2 separate regions of the Homo sapiens genome follow, and region 1 is linked to region 2. The links are contacts of gene promoters, found by promoter capture Hi-C in blood cells and fetal thymus (Javierre and others, 2016). All regions are on one chromosome and are shown on one strand. The core of a region is centred on a gene start or on the middle of the fragment in contact, and the rest is flanking DNA. Distances in the headings are between cores, read along the strand shown.

Region 1 (3,782 bases), core at 1,265-3,764, 120 kb before region 2:
TGACGCATCTGAAATCAGCTACATGCTCAGCTCTGAACATGTGGGCCTAGTTCTACAGGAATAATGGATATTGCAACTAACTTTGTAAGCAAATCAATCCATGGAAATTGTTAACTCAGAACATACTTAAATTGCTTTTTGCCAAGGAAAACACACTCTAGCACTTAGTGGCTGAAGGCAGTTTGATATTTCTCACCATTCTCTGGACTTACTGGGTGGTTCTTCTTCCAGTCTCACTGGGGCTCACTCACGTTGCTGAACTTACTTGGGGATTCTGATGGAGCTAACGCTTCCAAGATAGCATCACTCACTTGTTACCTGACTTGGTGCTGGCCATTGGTTGTGGTGTCTCAGTATTTTCCCAAGGAGTTTCTCATCTGCTTGTAGGGTACAATGGTTTTATTATGTGGTGTTCTCAGAGCAGCATTTGAAGAGAATGAAAGAAACTGCAATGCCTTTTGATGCCTCAACTCAGAATGCTCACGTCACTCCTGCAATATTTTCTTGGTCAAACAAGTCACAATTCCAATTTAATGAATCAATCACTGTGTTCTCTAGTGGAAGCATGACACACTTGGGAGATAAAACCTCTAAACCCTTAGAGCTCATGGTTTCTCTTATGGGAAAGTTCTAGGTCTCACAAATTATTGGAGGAACAGCAATGTATGTTGGTTGCAGATTTCAAGCATATAATATATTCAGGAGGCTATTACTCCATCCTTCTAAGGTATTGCCAAAGAACCTGCCCTGTAACTAAGTTTCAAAAGGTGTTCCTCATGTTCCAAGCATACTTTTTGAATTTGTAAATACTAGAATATTTGTCTTTAACTGTTGCTTTTCAGGGCCACCTTAAGGTAGGATTACAGTCCTGCAGTTATTCACTTTTGTGTGGGCCAGCATATCATGGGGAATCATCTGAAAATGAGGCTCCTATGCTTTCTTCCACATTCAGGTTGCCATAGGGAATGCCCCATGAGACACAAATTCAGGCTGAGCAAGAAGAAGCAATACAGCAAGGTATGGGCCACGGACATCTGTAGCACTTGATTATGAAATTTACTTGTGTTTTCAGGAATAGGAGTGCTATTGGCTGCTGCATATTTATACCCAGGATGCATGCAGGATAGATTATATCTCACTAAGAGGTGCACTGAATTTTGGAACAGATGAGGCAAGTATTTAAAGTTTTATTGTAATTTGAATTACATGCAAGCAAAGCTTGATAGTTAACTTCATGCTGCATTTTTTTTTCTGAGTAGTTTCAAGGAAATTCCAGTCACTAAATGTGACACAAGAGACTTGGTATTTGCCTTAATTGCCTGTTTTGATGCTTGTAAAGAGTAAGTTGTTAGTGATTCTCCAGAGTTTGAGTCCCTAGGGCTATGAAGTTAAATGAAAGAGTCTTGGTGCCTCAGGTATACACTGTCTGAAGAGACAGGAGGGTGGCAGCCTGTTTCTTTGTATGTAGCAGGTAAGTGTATTCAGGCTTTCTATGAAACTGAAAATAGGGTCTTCCTGATACGGCAAATGGGGCCTTTGATTTTTTAAATGTTAAATCACTGTGTTATTCAATTCTGTGCCCAATAATATTAAAAAATGAGGTCAACACTCATGAAAATATTTAGCCTTATATCCATTGAAAATTATCTCATGATGAATAGTATAAACTTGCTACTTGGAAATGGATATTTATCCATATTTCCTTTATATTCATCTTAAATTAGTGTGTAAATTTTTATAAGATTGAAAACTAGTCAGGCTTAAGGGAACTTTCACCTGATAAATCTTGAGACTCTTATAAGATACTTATGCAATACCTGAGCTATAGTAGATGCTGACCCTTAAGTCATAAACCCCAATAAAATGCCCATTCCACCAAGAGGTCAAAAGTAGGCCATTGTCCTTGTCAACTCCTCAGCAACTAAGATATTCAATGAGAGAAGTAGCCTTTCTAGAATAAAAGTTGGTAAAAAGTGGAATTAGTGTGCTCTTTTTCCAGATTTCTACAATATTTTCCTTTATCCTTAGAATAGAAATATATTCTGAATATTTTAATCAATTTGTCTATATAAACAAATACAGTAGCAATGCATGTTGTTGTTTGATGTAAATATTTTACATTTTCCACAGAATCTTTATTAGTTTATATATTTATGTATAAACATTTTCTATAAGTTATGTGCATGTCATGCTACTAGTTAATGTGTAGACATGTATACTACTGTACACATATACACACACATACACATACACATATATATTCACACATATATATATGTATGAAAACAGAAAGTGTAATAAAAATGGAAAGACACTCCAAAGACTTGGCTTGGTTTGTTTTAGACATAACAGCTGCCTGCATGAGGTATGTTCTTCTTGGACAAAACTAGGACCAGTAACTATTCCTTCTCCTTTTTTCCTTTTAATCAAAGAAAGTCATGACATAATTATCACTCACCCCATATTTTGCTTTGGCAGGAACAATTCTCTTCAACCCTTCCATTAAAAGGAATTATGATGATGGTTTTAAGGAATCTGAGCATGGAGCCCACCTTTGCCCTTTTAGGTTTCACAGATTACCCAAAGCTTCAGATTCCTCTCTTCCTTGTGTTTCTGCTCATGTATGTTATCACAGTGGTAGGAAACCTTGGGATGATCATAATAATCAAGATTAACCCCAAATTTCACACTCCTATGTACTTTTTCCTTAGTCACCTCTCTTTTGTTGATTTTTGTTACTCTTCCATTGTCACTCCCAAGCTGCTTGAGAACTTGGTAATGGCAGATAAAAGCATCTTCTACTTTAGCTGCATGATGCAGTACTTCCTGTCCTGCACTGCTGTGGTGACAGAGTCTTTCTTGCTGGCAGTGATGGCCTATGACCGCTTTGTGGCCATCTGCAATCCTCTGCTTTATACAGTGGCCATGTCACAGAGGCTCTGTGCCCTGCTGGTGGCTGGGTCATATCTCTGGGGCATGTTTGGCCCCTTGGTACTCCTTTGTTATGCTCTCCGGTTAAACTTCTCTGGACCTAATGTAATCAACCACTTCTTTTGTGAGTATACTGCTCTCATCTCTGTGTCTGGCTCTGATATACTCATCCCCCACCTGCTGCTTTTCAGCTTCGCCACCTTCAATGAGATGTGTACACTACTGATCATCCTCACTTCCTATGTTTTCATTTTTGTGACTGTACTAAAAATCCGTTCTGTTAGTGGGCGCCACAAAGCCTTCTCCACCTGGGCCTCCCACCTGACTTCTATCACCATCTTCCATGGGACCATCCTTTTCCTTTACTGTGTACCCAACTCCAAAAACTCTCGGCAAACAGTCAAAGTGGCCTCTGTATTTTACACAGTTGTCAACCCCATGCTGAACCCTCTGATCTACAGCCTAAGGAATAAAGACGTGAAGGATGCTTTCTGGAAGTTAATACATACACAAGTTCCATTTCACTGAACCAGTCTCAAAAGTTGTTTTCAATCCAAATGAACAACCCAAACAGAGGCTACAATGTTTCTAAAGCCTAGAGCATATATTTATATGAGGTTTTTATGGAATTGTCAAATGTGAATTGATATAGCATTCCCAGTATTATCAGGTTCAGAAATCTCTACAAGTTTAGTCCAGTTTATACAAAATGAATGAAAATAAACATTTAATCTGAAAACAATGAGAAACCATATTTCAAAATTATTTCTAACTTTTATATGAATGACTAAATAAACACAAATATTTGGTAACAAATACTATACAAATTCAAGCAACATTCTCCAAATTTT
Region 2 (3,804 bases), core at 65-2,564:
CGGAGGTTGCAGTGAGCCGAGATTGCACCACTACACTCCAACCTGGGCAATAGGGTCAGATTCCATCACAAAAAAAAAAAGAAAAGAAAAAAAGAAAAATTACTCTGAAATATATATTAAACAAATAAAAATTTGCCCCACTAACTCAAAGACTGGAGCATTTTTCAAATATAGAGAAATTACCTTACCTAAATTGAAAACACATTAAAAAAATAGCATATTTAGACAATTCCAGAGAATTGCTAGATTGTGGCTGAGTAAAATATGTATTATATTAAATTAGGGTATTTGAGACAACTTTATGTTATAATATATAATTTGAAGAAAACACCAGTATGAATATGCATTTTTGTGTGTATAAACATGTATTTTTACTATTTCCTTAAAATAAAATTTTATTTTTCAGTTTTTTCAGGGCCTCTTTCACATCCTTGTTCCTCAGGCTATAAATCAGGGGGTTCAACATGGGAACCACAAGGGTGTAAAACAATGAGGTCATTTTATCTTGATCTAGAGAATAGGAAGAACTTGGCCGGAAATACATAAAGAGCAGAGTTCCCTGGAAAATTGCAACCGCAGATAAGTGGGAAGTGCATGTAGAGAGAGCTTTGAACCTCCCCTCAGCAGAGTGTATCTCCAAGACTGATAGGATGATATAACAATAAGAAATGAAAACTCCTGAAATGGTACTCAGTTCAATAAAACCAAAGACGGTGAATAACACTAACTCATTGACCTGTGTATCTGAGCGAGAGAGTAATAAGAGAGGAGGGATATCACAGAAGAAATGATTAATCTCATTAGACCCACAGAAGCATAGGCGGAAGGCCAGTGTCATATGTATCAAAGCATCTGCTATTCCCACCAGATAAACCCCAGTCAAGAGTAGATAGCACACTCTGCTAGACATGTTGACTGTATAGAGCAGGGGGTTGATGATGGCCTTGTACCGATCAAAGGCCATCACTGACAGCAGTAGACACTCAGAATCTGCAAAGATACAGAAGACCAAGAATTGCAGAGCACAGCCATAGAAGGGTATTGACTTGTTCTTGGCAAGTAGATCTACCAGCATCTTGGGCCCAGTTGCAGTAGAATAGCAGAGATCACAGAAAGACAGATGACTGAGGAAGAAATACATTGGTGTGTGAAGTTGGTAATCCATTCTGATTAAAACTATCATTCCAAGATTTGCTGAGAAATTAATGATATAAACAGCCAAGAATACAGCAAATAGGGTCACTTTCATCTCTGGGTTATTGGTAATTCCCAAGAGAAAAAAATCAGTTAATGAGGAGCAATTTTCCCAGTCCATTCTTCCTTGTTCTTGTTTCAAACTGCTACAGAAATCATTACGAGAATGACAGTCTAGAACTTGACTTTCCAAGATATCAAAAAAAAAATTATCTGTAAAGTAGAACAAGATTTGTTTATGTAAATTATCTTCTTTACCCTCAAAAAGTATCCCAGGTGAGTGTCACTTTCAAAGAGGCATTATTACTGTATTAAAAAAAAAAAACCCTAAAAGTGTCTGCCAAAGGAAGTTGATCAACTTTGAATCTAAACTTACATGCAATTTCTGACATATATCATTTGTCTTTGCTTCTATTGTACAATCTAAGGCAGTCAATTTGATTAAACTGAAAGCTCAGTACAGATCCAAAAGGATGTGAAAGAAACACCATAGTTAGAGTCACAAGGGCCAGAACATACCGGACTAAGCATCTCATATATTTGACAAAAAAGGATCATATTTATTGCATTATTCAAGAAATATATACATTTTTCTACCACTGACAGTGATATTACATGTAAGTTAATAAGAGAAAATTATTATGGTACTGTTTTTGATGTGGTGTCGTTAGTGCTTACTGGAAAAGAAAAATGTTTTATTTAACTGTTACTCATCATCACTGGTTTGTCACAGCATTTATAATCCATTTGGATGACTTATCTGGTTCTAAAAAACAAAAGCCAAATGTAAGTGGTAAAAGAAGTGTGAACAACAGACTACTTATATTTGCTTATAATTGACTTTTTCATTAAAATCAAAATGTGAAGAACAATAAGTGTTTCTGAAATATATAGGCTTCTGTTGCTTGTGTTATATGTGCACTTACTCTTGTGTGTGTGTGTGTGCCTGTGTGTGTCTGTTATATGAAAATTGAAATGTGGGGTGGGTCTGATTGTTATTTCTTCTAGACTTAAATATTATGGCATGTACCTTAAGAACTTGAATTTTCATAAATTAATATCTGTAATGTGTTACCTCTATTATTATTTGAGTAAATCTAGAACCTATCTTAAATTTACATCTAAAATAATATCACAGGTACAGTGATTTTTTAAAGTAATGATTTACTTATGAAGGTTGATTAAAATATAAATGGGTGAAATCTATATTATCCTCTTACAATGACAAGTAAGGTCAGTCAAATTCACACAGATCCAATAAGAAAATATCATTGTTTGGCCATTAGATTCCAGAGGTGCTTCAACTGAGTAAGCATCTATAAAATCATTCATTTGTAAATTCCTTAATACATGATTTCTTATTTTTCCAAAATTTTTCCTCTGTCCTTTAAATTGATCATTCAGAAACCTACCTGAGATGAGCAAGTCTTTCTGTCCTTACCTCTGGTATGTGAACAATAGGCAGATCACATTTTATTTTTACTGGTGACTGTTGGGACATAAATCTCTCAAGCCTCTGCCTTCACTCCTTTATGTTATTCAAACATGATTAATTAGATTCCTAGTTCTGTATTTTCCCCAGTGAATGCTGCAACTAGTTTACCAAAGGCTCCATTTTTAATTTTTCAGCTTTATCACCAAATTGACCAATGTTAGAAATTTATCAGAATTCATTTAACAGTATGCTTCATGGTTATCATGAAATAAGACAGCCAATGAAACTTGAGTAGATTTTCAACTTAATGGTTTTCTTGTCCTTTTCATTGTTCATCCTGTTTCTTCCACTTCTGAAAATCTCCTTCATCTCCCATTTAGAAATAAGATAATCTAACATGCTGCTTTTTTTCATTAATCATTGTCTGAGTACTTTTTCCCCAACTACAGTGACAACTACCCTCATTTCAATTATTTTATGGATGTACAACATCCGTCACATTGAACACACTTTTTCTTAATTTATATTTTATTTGTCTGTTGGCCTAGGTGTCTCTCTACATTCCCACAATCTCTAGCACAGAGATATGTGTGAGTAATGTATGTTTTTAAATGTGATTGTGTGATGTTAAATATTTTCTGCTTATTAGGCTGGTAATGTTCAACCAAGAATAAACATAAACAAACTTTCAGGTCTGTTTCTCCTAATATAGTTGATATGTACAAAGATGATTATTTAAAAGAAAACGTGGCCCTGCGCGGTGGCTCAAGCCTGTAATCTCAGCATTTTGGGAGGCCGAGGCGGGAGGTCAGGAGATCGAGACCATCCTGGCTAACATGGTGAAACCCCGTCTCTACTAAAAGATACAAAAAAATTAGCTGGGCGTGTTGGCGGGCGCCTGTGGTCCCAGCTACTCGGGAGGCTGAGGCAGGAGAGTGGCGTGAACCTGGGAGGCAGAGCTTGCAGTGAGCTGAGATTGCGCCATTGCACTCCAGCCTGGGCAACAGAGCGAGACTCCGTTTCAAAAAAAAAAGAAAACATGTGTTGAGGCCATGCTTTTTAAGAAAAAAGCTAAGTTCTATTTATTTCCAAAATAAGTTTTGTGTACAATTATTCATGGCAGTCCTTTGATACTTGGAAGTTACTCAAAGTGTGAATTTTGTGTCTACCCCATT

What was found. Contacts are between HindIII fragments. The CHiCAGO score rates a contact against its expected background, and 5 or more counts as called.
Region 1: the fragment with the promoter of OR5D14 here is called in contact with the fragment with the promoter of OR5W2 in region 2 in 5 of 17 cell types (neutrophils, naive B cells, total CD4 T cells and 2 more); the score reaches 5.8 in neutrophils.

Annotation. Positions count from the first base shown.
Region 1 is chr11:55,793,042-55,796,823 of GRCh38, forward strand. OR5D14 (olfactory receptor family 5 subfamily D member 14) reads left to right here and starts at 2,515. Exons shown (of 1, transcript NM_001004735.1): 1 at 2,515-3,459. The coding sequence starts at 2,515. The coding sequence ends at 3,459. The HindIII fragment of the contact is 1,368 bases long and covers 1,217-2,584 here.
Region 2 is chr11:55,913,268-55,917,071 of GRCh38, forward strand. OR5W2 (olfactory receptor family 5 subfamily W member 2) reads right to left here and starts at 1,315. Exons shown (of 1, transcript NM_001001960.1): 1 at 383-1,315. The coding sequence starts at 1,315. The coding sequence ends at 383. The HindIII fragment of the contact is 7,753 bases long and covers 1-3,804 here.